Regions from separate parts of the Homo sapiens genome. Here all the other regions are linked to region 2. The links are contacts of gene promoters, found by promoter capture Hi-C in human tissues and cell types (Jung and others, 2019). All regions are on one chromosome and are shown on one strand. Each heading gives the region's core, a stretch centred on a gene start or on the middle of the fragment in contact. The rest is flanking DNA. Distances are from core to core; before and after follow the strand shown. Region 1 overlaps BBS9 (Bardet-Biedl syndrome 9). Region 2 holds the start of BMPER (BMP binding endothelial regulator). Region 3 overlaps BBS9 (Bardet-Biedl syndrome 9). Region 4 overlaps BBS9 (Bardet-Biedl syndrome 9).

Region 1 (2,959 bases), core at 30-2,529, 410 kb before region 2:
TGCTCAACTTACCATTCTCAGATTCTGCCAGAATCAACTTCTGATATACCAGAAGTTTTATGGTGGCCAGTTCCCCAATAATCTGTGTAATCTTTCTTAATATTATTTTTGATCATCAAATCATAACTTTTCTGAAGATTGCTAAACACTATTTTCTAAGGTGTTTTTAGGGGAATTAAAATGATGGCCACAGGATAAAACCCTAGAGAACTGAAACAAAGAACTCTTTCCTGAAGCTTCACGTGCTATTGTGTGATATTTCCTATCACTCATGAACGCTTCCACTATGAAGATGGTATTCTATCCCCAGAATTAAAATTTCTTCTCCGGATGGTTTGTGTGATACTTGTTATTTTATCCAAATTCAGCTCTTTATCACAGTGTTGGATATTGATACCAAGAATTTAAACAAAAAGTGGCTGTGTGAATCAGTTATTTGTAAGATAATAATCTTGTTCTTATTCTCTGAAAATGGATTCAGATTTCTAGTAAATGGATTCTATTAGAGGATTCCAATTTGAACTGTGACACCTGTTTAATTTGTTAAGTGAACTAGAAAGTGAGTTATTTTTAAAACTAGTTGTAATCCATACCTCTCTTAACAGATGCTCTCATCCTCATATAGTCTATTTTAGCTACTTCGAAGGAAGAAATACATGGGTTTAGAGGGGCCCCTTATCCATTCAAATCCAAATTTGGACATTTCAAGAAAAGATCTGTTTTATACATAACACATTTACTTAGGTTTGTAGATTTTTCTTTATTTGCTGAGTTTTAAAAAGATCAATCTTTTTTCTTTTTCTTTTTTGTTTTTTTCTGCCTGGTTTGATTTTCTTTTTATTTGTGTGTTTTAACAGAGAAGCTTTACATGAGAATATCAATGCCAGGACCAAAGCTGTCATGTCCCTTTTTGTTTAATTCTCATCTGTATTAGAATTATACATGGATATCAACTATCTTTTGGCTAGTTTTATAGTTGAAAATCACTTCAAAGATAGTCATTAAGAATTATCTCATAACTGTGAAAAATGTCACTATCTCACAAATGTTTATTAACCCCAGTTTCAGTTGCTCATTGAGCCAAATTTCTTCCTCCATTAAGGTTCATGCAGCACCTAACACTCCAGTGGGTGCTCAATTTGTACTCTTTGAAGAGATTGAATAAACATATATTTTATTTTTTCTCAGGGTAAATTGATCTTAGCTTCTATTCTATTAATAAGAAATAAACTTTATTACTTTCCCAGAATGCATAGTTTCTTTCATTGAAGTCATAAGCATAATTAATCTGAAAATAAGTAACAACTTTGTGGAAGTTAATTTTCTAGCTCCGTGGAGTTCTTTCAAAGCGGTGTGGACAGTGACAGAACATGGGCTTTGTTGGGTAGCCAGTCCTGGGTTTGAATCTTGCTGCATGACTGTGGACAGTCAGCATCTTAAACCACCAGTTTCGTCACAGCCAAAGTAGATCTAATAGCCCCACTGCACAGTTTCATTATAGAGACCATATGAAGGAACTCATGCTTGGCCTATAGTAGGTCCTACCTAGGAAGTATGGGGAGAGGGATCATTGTGTATATTGGAGAGAATGCCCCACAAGGGGTAGCCAGGGAGTATTCTTAGAATAGTTATTTCCTGGAAACTGGATGAAGACACTGGGAGGTATAACTCCAAACAAAATACCACACAAAAATACATTTAATGAATTCTAAGACATTAATTTTAGAGCACACTATTGATTAGATAACTTTTGAGGATAAAAAGCAAAGCTACCACATTAAATGTGGCGTATCCTGATTTGAAAACCATTAAAGTGTTTATCAAAAATGGGTGTATGGGTGGGAGAGGTGCCTAACAAGCAAAGGGCATTATGGAATTAAGGAAATCTATTATTGGCTCTGCCTCACAACTGGTATTCTAGGTACTAGCTCTACTTCTAAGAGAATGTTCTGCTAGTAATATTAAGCTAATATGCTACCCTTCTAGGATGTACCAAATGGGATTTAATTCAGTTCAATTGAACAAATATTTGTTGAGCCCTACTGTGTGTTAGGCCCTATGCTCTATGCTGGGGACACAGTAGTAAATAAGACAAGACACAGTCCCTGTCTTCACAGAGCTTACATGTATTAAGCAAGTCATTCCAAATGTGATGGATATAATAGAAGGGGACACACAGGGTGCTTTGAGAGAGAAGATGTGGAGATTATGACACATACTTTGGTAAATAATGTAAGTATTTTATATACAAAATCAATCCCATGAAGAGGTACTGAAATTATTGGGATTGTATAAACTAGAGATGAAGAGGCCAAAGGGAGTGTTATTATTGTCTTCAGGTATATGACATTTTTTGAATTTTATTTTGCTTTATTAAAGGATATGTTGGGCTGGGTGTGGTGGCTCATGCCTGTTATCTCAGCACTTTGGGAGGCTAAGGTGGGTGGATCACTTGAAGCCAGGGGTTTGAGACCAGCCTGGCCAACATGTTGAAACTCTGTCTCTACTAAAAATACAAAAAAAATTAGCTGGGCGTGGTGGCGAATGCCTATAATCCCAGCTACTCAGGAGACTGAGGCATGAGAATTGCTTGAACCTGGGAGGTGGAGGCTACAGTGAGCCAAGATCGCACCACTGCACTCCAGCCTGGGTGACAAAGCAAGATTCCACCTCGAAAAAAAAAACAAAAAAAAAACAAAAAAAAAACTTGGTTGAGTGTTTAGCCAGGGAATAATAAATAATAATAATAATGTTAACCTTTATTGCATGCTTCCTATGTGCTAGCCACCGTGACAAATACATTTTAAGTTGTATCTCATTTAATCTTCAAGCCACGTAATTACTTGTCTCTTACAAAGGAGAAAACTGAAGCTTAAAGACGTCGAGGACCTCCTGGGATTAAATTACCAGAGCCCAGATTCAGTTTAATCACTTATGATGAGGACGATCTCTGTTTTTC
Region 2 (3,289 bases), core at 723-3,222:
TTAATGAGTCCCTGGGAAGTAAGGCTGGATTTAGAGATTTTTCTCTTTTTGCATATTATCTTTATGATTAGTAAATACATAAACACACTGGTTTCCGAGAAGCTGCCTGGCCATGGCTTTATTTGGGTGGGGGGAGGGAGGGAAGGAATCACACATCAGCCTTCTCTTTCAATTTAAATTTTACGGTAAGAATCTATTTTGGGAGGGAAATGGAGCATGCTAAGCTAATGACAGTTTTCCCTTCTCTTATTTTTCCCACGTCACAGCAACGTGCTCGCATCAGCTCCTCGGTGTGTCGCGATGTTGGCAATGTTGCACTAATTAAGTGAAGTCTCCAAATCACTCGAAAAAACGAATAAACAGTCAACGAGGCAGGGAAGGGTTAAGGTGAAGCTAGATTAAACCTGTCAGCAAACAGACTCATTTATTTTCAAAGCTGTAGTTTCCACAATGGAAACAACCCACTTTGCCTGGAGACCCTTAGGTCCGTTCCGTGGGGACCCGGTTTCAACTCTTGGACAGAGGAAGTCGGTAGTCCACCGTGAGCTCAAGGACAGCTAGCTGATCGTCAGGTCCCAACACTTGCCAAGCGTCCCTCACTCCCACCTCGCGCCTTCGTACTTTGGTTACAAAAATCATCTCTCTGCGATTGCACCCCTTTTGAGTAGAGGGTGCCACTGCGTGGGGAGGAGGCGGCGATTCAGCAGGGGGATCACAGGAGCTGACTCCCCGACACCCAGTGCTGCAGAGGCGAGAGGGCGCAGCCGGGCTGAGAGAGCGACGGAGCTCCGAGCTGCAGAGGCCGCCGCGCGGCGGCCCCCGCCAGAGATGAGCGGTGGGGCGGGGGTTCCTCCCTCTTTTCGGGTGAATGAATGATTAGTCAAACACCACCTCCCCGCCCCGGTCCGCCCGAGATTGGAAGGGAGGAGTCTCGGAGCGACTGTTCATTTTTTAAGGACGAAAGGCGTTTGCCTCGGTACGTTTTTAAATCGACCTTGTGTGTGTTTCAACTTCGGTCATCCCTAGTGTCAGGACGCGCAGACAGCTAAGCACAGAACACATCTCTAAGGCCACTTGCCCCTCTGTCCGCTCAGCCCCCTGAGTTCGCTGTCGCGCCCCCGCCAGAGGGAAGCAAAGCAGGGCATGAAAAGTTGCGGGGGCCCTACTGCCCCGGGTGTGTCGCTCCTTCCCAAAGGTGGGGCACCCGGGAGCGAGCAGGGTGGTGGGGCGCCCCTGCGTCCCGTTTGCTGCTCCCTCGCTGGATTGGGGCACCCGGGCCTGAGCGCTAGTGCTGCGGCATCCCCGGGGCTCCCCCAAGAAAGGGAGGAGGAGCCGCGCTCGCCCGGACAGTGGAGACGCGCCTTCTCGGCTCTGGTCCGCGCCCTGGGGCCCTGGCCTCCCTGGAGGGGCTGGGGAACTGGAAGCTGGGCCGAGAGAGTTCCCGCTGCAGCTATCGCGCAGTCCCTCCTGCGCCCGGGCGCCCCCAGCGGGTTCCGGGAGGCGCCCGGTGAGCCCACGTCTGTTGCGGCGGAGCGAGCGCGCTCCGGGAGGGCCGAGAGCCGGCGGGGCTGGCAGGAGGTGAGGAGTGCGGGAGTGGAGGACGCTGCGGCAGCGACAGCGACAGCCCCCGAAACAGTAGCGGCAGCCCGGGCGGCGGCTGAGCGGCAGTGCGCAGTCGGCAGCGCCGCAGCTCCTCTCAGTCTATCTCCGGCTGCCGCAACACCCCTTCCTCCTGGCCCCCTCTCCGGCGCTGAGGGGCTGACTGCTAAGCCACTGCAAGCAACTCCCTCAGGAAAAAAAAAAAAAAAGCCGCATCGGAGGAGCCTGGCCGCAGGACCCCTCCTCCCCGGGCGCCCCCACACCTTGGTCTCTCCCCCCGCCCTCCCTCACACCCCCCCGCCCCCCAGCTCTCGGGCGCCCGCCTCCCTCCTTCGCGGACGGTCTCCCGACACGCCGGCTGAGAGCCCTTTTCGACTGTGAGCTGCGGCAGCTGAGCAGAGGCGGCGGCGCGGGACCTGCAGTCGCCAGGGATTCCCTCCAGGTGACGATGCTCTGGTTCTCCGGCGTCGGGGCTCTGGCTGAGCGTTACTGCCGCCGCTCGCCTGGGATTACGTGCTGCGTCTTGCTGCTACTCAATTGCTCGGGGGTCCCCATGTCTCTGGCTTCCTCCTTCTTGACAGGTAGGGGAGGGGGCGGGAGGGACCGGCCCTCCGGGACGCCGGTTTGGTACCTGGGAAAGGTGGCGCTGGCTTGCCCCGGGGATGGGAGGGTGGGGAGCGCGCACCTTGGCGCTTGCCCTGCGCTGGTCGATGGGGATGAAGCGAAGCCCCGGGAGGGCTGGGAAGGCTGGTGAAGAGGTTGCGGGCTGAGAGGCTGTTGCCTTCAATGTAGTAATAATAGACATTCTTCTATTTGAATTTGAGAAATTATTTTATTTATTTTTAATGCTTTCCTCAACTTTTATTTTAATCTTTCCCTCTGTAGAACTCAGGAAAAAAATTTGTGCAGTTTTCCGCACATCTTCCTTTCTCATCTTTGGGGTTGCAATACATCCACTGTGCTAGGAGTGCTTTTTAAAGCACTGGCTCTCAAGACCTTGAATTTAAAGAAACTATCATTTAAAAAGGGCACTAATAGCCGGATATAATAATTATATGTTTTCAGGCAGGTGAAGACCTCAGCTGCTATTCTGAAGGACATACTTTACTGACACCTGGTGCAGAAAAGAAAATATGGAGTCAATTTCTAAGAGAAGGGAAAAGGGGATTGCGTTTCAAAAAGTGATTTAAACCTAAGACAATGCGAGACAGATTCATAGAAAGGCCTGTTTATTGACTCAGTTCTGAGTTTTGGTCAATTTAAAATCTGCCCCAATTTGAGGGTTTTTTTAAATTTTATTTTTTATTTTTTTCTTTGCGTATGGGGCTGTGTGCTTAGTTGAAATATCTTCATAAAGGAGGAGTGTTATTAAAAATCCAGTGAAATACTTGGAATTGTGCTTAGACCATCTGAGAACAGATAATTTATCCCTATATCATAGTCTTTTCTTTTTTGAACCTGTTTAAATAAAATTATTGAAAATGGAGTTGGGGGCAGAGGTTTTGCTTTGGTGAATTTAATAATTTAAACCACATTAAGAATTCTGAAGTTTGGGTAGAGGTTTCAAAAAGGATTAGTGTAAAAATTTTAAATGTTGAAATCATGCTGCTAAGCTAACTTTAAATGAAACATTTTTCCCCCCTGAATTTCAGGTTCTGTTGCAAAATGTGAAAATGAAGGTGAAGTCCTC
Region 3 (3,166 bases), core at 346-2,845, 320 kb before region 2:
TGATTTTGGTTTCCGTTGCTTCCTCCTAATCTCTCAGCCTAAATTCATTCATTTAAGTTGACAACTAAATATCGTGTGCCTGTTGTGTGCCAAGCGCTGTTCCAAGACTTAGGATACTGTAGCCACCAAATTAGATAGAGATCCCTGCCATTTTGGAACTCTTATTCTCACAAGTGAAGACAATAAGCAATAAGCATGATAAATAAGTGAACTATGTATGTGAGAAAGTAGTAAGTGCTAATGTTAAGTGTTACAGAAAAAGAAAATGTGTGTCAGAAAAGGGGTGGGGGCCACATGGTCATAATTTCAAATTGGGTGGTCAGGATAGGCTTTGTTCACAAGACAATTTTTGAAGAAAGACTTGAAGAAGGTGAGGGAATTATTCATGCAGAAATCAGAGGGACAAGTGTTTCAGGTAAAGGGAATGGTCAGCACCATCCCTAAAGTGGGAATGGGCCTGGTGTGTTCCAGGGACAGCAAAGAGGACAGTGAGGTGGTGTGGTAGGAGAGGAGGCTGGAGGGACCAGATCATGTGCAGCCTTTGTGCAGACATTTGCTCATTTGCTTTTCCTCTGGGTGAAATGGGGAAAGCCATTTTGAATGAAGGAATGACATGACTTTACCTTTTAAAACGATCACGGGTTACTCTTTTGAGAATAGACTATAGTGGGGGTCAGAGGTAAAAATGGGCAGTCCAGTTTAAGGGTTACTCAGAGAAGCAATTTAGCAATACAGTAATTCCCTCCTTATCCATGGAGGATGTGTTCTGAGACTCCCAGTGGTTGCCTGAAACTGCAGATAGTACTGAACCCTGTACTATGAAAAAATGTTGTGTTTTCCTATACAATAACAGGCAGGCAGCATATGCAGCATGGATGTGCTGAACAAAGGGATGAGTTACGTCCCATGCAGGATGGAGAAGGATGACCCAGGATTTCATCACACTACCCAAAACAGAGTGCAATTTAAAACTTGTGAATTATTTCTGGAATTTTTTATTTAATATTTCAGACTGTGGTTGATTGCAGGTAACTTAAACTGCAGACAGCAAAACTGCAGATTACTGTAATTCAGGTAAGAGATGATGATAGATTGTACCAAAGTGGTAGTAGTGGTGAGAAATGGTCTTATTCTGGATATATTTCAAATGTTGAAACAATAGAATTTCCTAACAAAATGGACATGATATGTGAGAGGAAGAAGGGAATTTAGAATGACTCTAGTAGTTTTGGCTCGAGACACTGAAAGGGTGGAGTTGAGATGGGGAAGGCTGTGGGGTGAGATGGGAAAGGTTTGTGAAGGATAAGAGTAAAGTTTGGGACATGTTGAGTTTGAGATGCTGTTAGAGATCTAAGTGGAGATATTAAGTAAGAAGTTGGGTATGAATCTGGGGTTCAGGAGAGAAATCTGGGCTGAAGTTACAAAATTAGGAGTTGTCAGCATGAAAATGTTACTTTAAAGCCAGAAGACTGGATAAAGTCACCAAGGGAGTAAGTTTAGAAAAGAGATGAGGACCAAAAACTGAGTGCTGGATATTGTAACTTTTAGGAAGTTTGGGAGAAGAGAAGGAACCAGCAAAGAATACTGAAAAAGAGCCTGCAGTGAGGTAACAGGAAAAGCAGTAGAATGTGGTATCCTAGAAGTCAAGCAAAAAAAGTTTCAAGGAAGACTGAATGATCAGCTGTGTCAAATGCTGCTCACAGATCAAGTCAGCTGAGAGCTGAAAATTAGCCCATTGATGGAACCATGTGAAGATCATTGTGATCTTGGGCAGCTTCTGTAGAGTGGCAGAGGCAAAAGCTAGACTGGGATGGATGTGTGAGAGAAAGGAAAAAAGAAGAGTTGTAAAGAGCATATATAGAGAACTCTTCGGAGAAGCTTTGCTGCTAAGAGGAGCAAAGAAACGGAAGAAAATGCTGGCATGAAAGTGGGGTCAAGAGATAGTTAATTTTTCTTGATTTGATGTATATTGTTGTCCTCTATTATTGATCTGGACCCTAATCTTTGTTCTTTCTTTACAAAGCTGTTATTTCTTACTGGCCACTGTTTGTTTTTTTGTTTTTTTGTTTTTTTTTTTTTTTTTTACCAGATCAGACAACCAATTAAGGTTTTATTTGAATATTTAACCCAACTATTGGTGTTCCTAGATAGCTATAGTTGCTGCTCTGTCTTCCTAAAATTTACTACCCTTTGTACCTTCAGTTCCCCACTCATCTTACATGAGAATCTCAGGCTTAGACTGGAATAATTTGGCAGTATAGGGCAAAAATGATGCTGATGCTGTAAATGCTTATTATTATAACACTTGTGTATCATTTACTATGAGTCAGGCACCATTTGAAGCGCTTTACATCCATTTACTCACTTAATCTTTACAATACCCTATGAACTAGGTATAATTATTATCTGCATTTTACAAATAAGGAAATTGAAGCAGAGAAAGATCAAGTAAATAGTTTTTCTTTTTTAAAAAAAAAACTAATAATCATGGAGCTGGGATTAAAATTCTGACGGTTTAGCTCCAGAGGCCATGCTTTTGAAGCAACTGGAGAATTTTAAGAGCAGGCAGTTAGCTAGAGAGATTTCATTTTACATAATATAGGAATTTGCTTGAGTGAATGGGTTATGTTTTTGGAGAAACAGGATAGAATACAGGAGCTGATTGGTCATTTCCTTAGATTTACTAGCCTATACATTAGTGGGCTGTGCTCAGCCCACAATCCTGGAAGGATGTGGTGGAACATTCTTAAATGATGACTTTTTTTTTAAAGGCTGTATTTCCTCAAGTTTCATGAATTCCTTTTTAAGTCAACAAGTAAATATTAAGCACCTACTCTTTGCATAAGAGGAAAAAAATTTAACTCCTTCCCTCTATATGTTTATTTTCCTGTGGGAAGCTGATTTGTTTATCACACAGGCTATAGAATCATTTGGAAACTAAAATAGAAAGGGCTTTGCATGTGAATGTAATATTTTACTATTTTTTAAAAGGATCCTTAAAATTTCTATGTCTTTAGAGATGAGGTGTGAACTAAATGATTCTTTGTTAAGTGTTATTTCTTAGAGCACTGGTGAGCAGTTGCCACTGAATCCTTCATTAATAATCCCTTCCTTTTCCAGAAGGACTTGCCAACACCCGTAAAGTATTCACTGGGAGAATTAAAGT
Region 4 (3,067 bases), core at 308-2,807, 340 kb before region 2:
ATTTTCCACTGATGGCTATGTACTTTATGTTATTGATTCAAAGATATTACATAGACATGTTACCAACAATAGTCTTTTCTTTCTTGAAAAATAGTCGTTATTAATTTTACCCCTTAACAATTCTATGTAGTCTGACCTTTTAGGAATAATCCTGGGCTGAAAATAGAGTTGCCATTGAAATTTCAAAGTAACTTCAATTTCAAAGTAGGAATATAAGTAGTAGTATGTTTTATTCTATTAATTGAAGATTGTATTAATGATACTCTGCCTTTCCTATAACTGTGCCATATAGGGCATTTCAAAGAAAGACTAGTTGACCCTTAGATTTACCATTGAAAATCAAAGGATGAAATTGAAATGTATGGCTGGTGGACTGTGAAGTCTCTGTGGTATATACAACAAAGTGATAAAAAACATATATGGTAATAATCACTTTTGGGGGATTCCTTAAGGAGATATTTCTTTTTAAATGTGCATGTCTGTAACCTAGGACTATTCAAAATTAACAACAGCTACTCAAAAGGAAATGAAATATTCTTTTCTCCTGCTTCTCTGAAAAGGCACCATTTGACTAAAGTTTCAATCTGCAGACAAAATAGAATTCCTTCTTCCCCCAAATTTAATTAATTGGCTTCCGCTAGGTCAAGGAGGTGCCTTATTATATGGTACAGCCCCAAATCCTAAACTGAACTTGAAACAGCTAACCTGTGAAAGCTGAAAAAGCCAAATCGCTTGGAAATGTAGTGACAGAAGCCATAGAAAAGGGAAAGGAGGCTGGGCGCGGTGGCTCATGCCTATAATCCCAGCACTTTGAGAGGCCGAGGTGGGTGGACCACGAGGTCAGGAGATCGAGACCATCCTGGCCAACATGGTGAAACCCCGTCTCTACTAAAAATACAAAAATTAGCCGGGCATGGTGGCACGCGCCTGTAGTCCCAGCTACTCGGGAAGCTGAGGCAGAAGAATCACTTGAACCCAGGAGGTGGAAGTCGTAGTGAGCCGGGATTGTGCCACTGCACTCCAGGCTGGTGACAAAGCAAGACTCCATCTCAAAAGAAAAAAAAAGAAAAAGAGAAAGGAGACCATTCTTAACATATTTTTACAAAACCAAGAAATGCTCATTTTGATGACATATTGATGTCATGTTGATGCAATGGAGAGTATAGGTATAATTATTATTATAGAGTGTATTTTTAAAATTTATATTGCTAAAGCCTACAGATTGCAATGGGTCTAGGAGTGTAAATCAGAAGTACTGTCAAAACAGTACTCCAGATGTGTTGAGTCATCTCTGGTGTCAAAAGGATAAGTTCAGATAATAATCAAATAAAGGATTTGCTAGAATATGTGTAGGCACTCAGTCTGATTTATGTTCCCAGTTTTAAGACATCTATGCATTTCACTTCAACTTTAAACCAAGGTCAAGACCACTGGAACCTGGGATCTGGAAATGGGTTTATTGTTAGGATTAGTAACAGTTGTTTTGTTTCACAAACAACTATGGCCATCATTCTAAGAGATTGCTTTTAAAAGAATTTACGATCTCCACTGACACAGGAGGTAAAGTCTATACTGAAAAAGCAGTTCTATTTGAGCTATTTCTGATGTCATTCTGATCCGAAATAAGGACATTTGATTAGAAAATTGAATTTTGATAACTTTGTTATGGCCTATTGTACAACTACTCTCTATCTTAGCATGAAGATAGTGTGGTGCTTTTGCTGCCAAAGAAATAGTGTGTATTTTTGGCCTCTTTTACGCATTTCAAAAGCAACTTTTTATTCTAGTCTGGTGTAAAATTGATTCTCAGGTGAATAACTCAATCCTCTATTCCTGTTGAGTTGCACGTATGGGGTCACTGTAGCTGCAATGTGTATTGTAAGTGATGGTCGAGGGAAGGAATGTCTGAGTATGACTGCAATATAGTATCTGTGCCAATCTGCATTCGGCGCTAAAACAAAGTCATGAGATGCGAAGTGCGAGCTTCTTTGAACAGTGTTTACAGCAGGCCTTATTGCATGATCAGAGTTTCTGAGAAAGCAGCTAACTTAAGACTGCAGATCTCTGTATATTGCTGCCGATAAGACCACATACTTACTGGAACTTATGCTTTATTCATTTTAGCTTTGAAAGATTTTCTAAAAATCTTGCCTGGAATTCATCAATTCTTTAAAAAAAATTTCATTATGTTACTGAATCTTGCTTTAAAGATGAAGATTGTCTTCTTTTGAGCTATCACCTCCCCTTCTTTGTTTTATTGGCAAATTGGAGAGAGAGGAGAGATATCTTATTTATTTTATCTTAGTTACATTATAGTGTAATTTATCTGCTATAGACCTATTCTTACACTATCCACCCATGGCACCCTCATCACCATAGTTGTAACTCACCTGTAATTCGTCTTGCATGTTTGACATTGGAAGGGATTTTAATACAACACAAACAACAAATAATTAGTTGGAAATGATGTGTTATATTTCAGGGGCATTATATATGGAGACAGGCTGACCTGGATTTGTATTCTAGCCTATCACTTACGTTGCCATGTGATTTTGAGTAAGTAACTTAACCTTTCTGGGCCTTAGTCTCCTTATCTGAGACCATAGTAGTGTTGTAAGGACTGATCAAGATAATGCATGGAAGACACTTAGCATAGGACCTAGCCCATGGGAAATGTTCAATTCACGATGACTTTTCGTTTTATTCTGATTATTATAATGGAAAGGTGATTTATTCTTTTTTTTGCGTCAGATGTTCTGAAACTGCGATAGAAGATTACATAAATTCTTGGCTGTCACTTTAAAGCCCTGATCCATTTCTTCTGGAAAAGAGGTGAAAATGTAATGTGTGCTCATTCTGTGATGAGAATAACAACAATCTCACAAATATTTCTATGTTGCCTTACCAGGCATTTGAGATTGAAAGCAGATCCAGCCTGTTTCTCCAAAAACTGAATTCATTGCTGGGAGATAATCTCTCTTTTTGAGGTAAAGAATGATTTGTACTAATTTTTTGGAACTAACACTTAAGAATCCCTGGCTGTAGAACTGCAGTGTAGATATAACAT

Evidence for each region. Contacts are between HindIII fragments. The study calls those that stand out against the background at their distance.
Region 1: a fragment that was not itself captured here is called in contact with the fragment with the promoter of BMPER in region 2 in 3 of the 25 tissues and cell types used here (aorta, dorsolateral prefrontal cortex and mesenchymal stem cells).
Region 3: a fragment that was not itself captured here is called in contact with the fragment with the promoter of BMPER in region 2 in 1 of the 25 tissues and cell types used here (spleen).
Region 4: a contact is called between a fragment that was not itself captured here and the fragment with the promoter of BMPER in region 2, in 1 of the 25 tissues and cell types used here (dorsolateral prefrontal cortex).

What each region holds. Positions count from the first base shown.
Region 1 is chr7:33,489,530-33,492,488 of GRCh38, forward strand. All of the region lies in intron 19 of BBS9 (Bardet-Biedl syndrome 9), which reads left to right. Among named protein-coding and RNA genes, the nearest start is that of FLJ20712, 230 kb to the right of the region's middle. The HindIII fragment of the contact is 4,233 bases long and covers 1-2,959 here.
Region 2 is chr7:33,903,567-33,906,855 of GRCh38, forward strand. It overlaps BMPER (BMP binding endothelial regulator), which reads left to right and starts at 1,973. Exons shown (of 15, transcript NM_001365308.1): 1 at 1,973-2,180; 2 at 3,252-3,289. The coding sequence starts at 2,048. The HindIII fragment of the contact is 7,840 bases long and covers 1-3,289 here.
Region 3 is chr7:33,588,394-33,591,559 of GRCh38, forward strand. All of the region lies in intron 21 of BBS9 (Bardet-Biedl syndrome 9), which reads left to right. Among named protein-coding and RNA genes, the nearest start is that of FLJ20712, 140 kb to the right of the region's middle. The HindIII fragment of the contact is 7,459 bases long and covers 1-3,166 here.
Region 4 is chr7:33,561,872-33,564,938 of GRCh38, forward strand. The region is part of intron 21 of BBS9 (Bardet-Biedl syndrome 9); the gene reads left to right. Among named protein-coding and RNA genes, the nearest start is that of FLJ20712, 160 kb to the right of the region's middle. The HindIII fragment of the contact is 6,844 bases long and covers 1-3,067 here.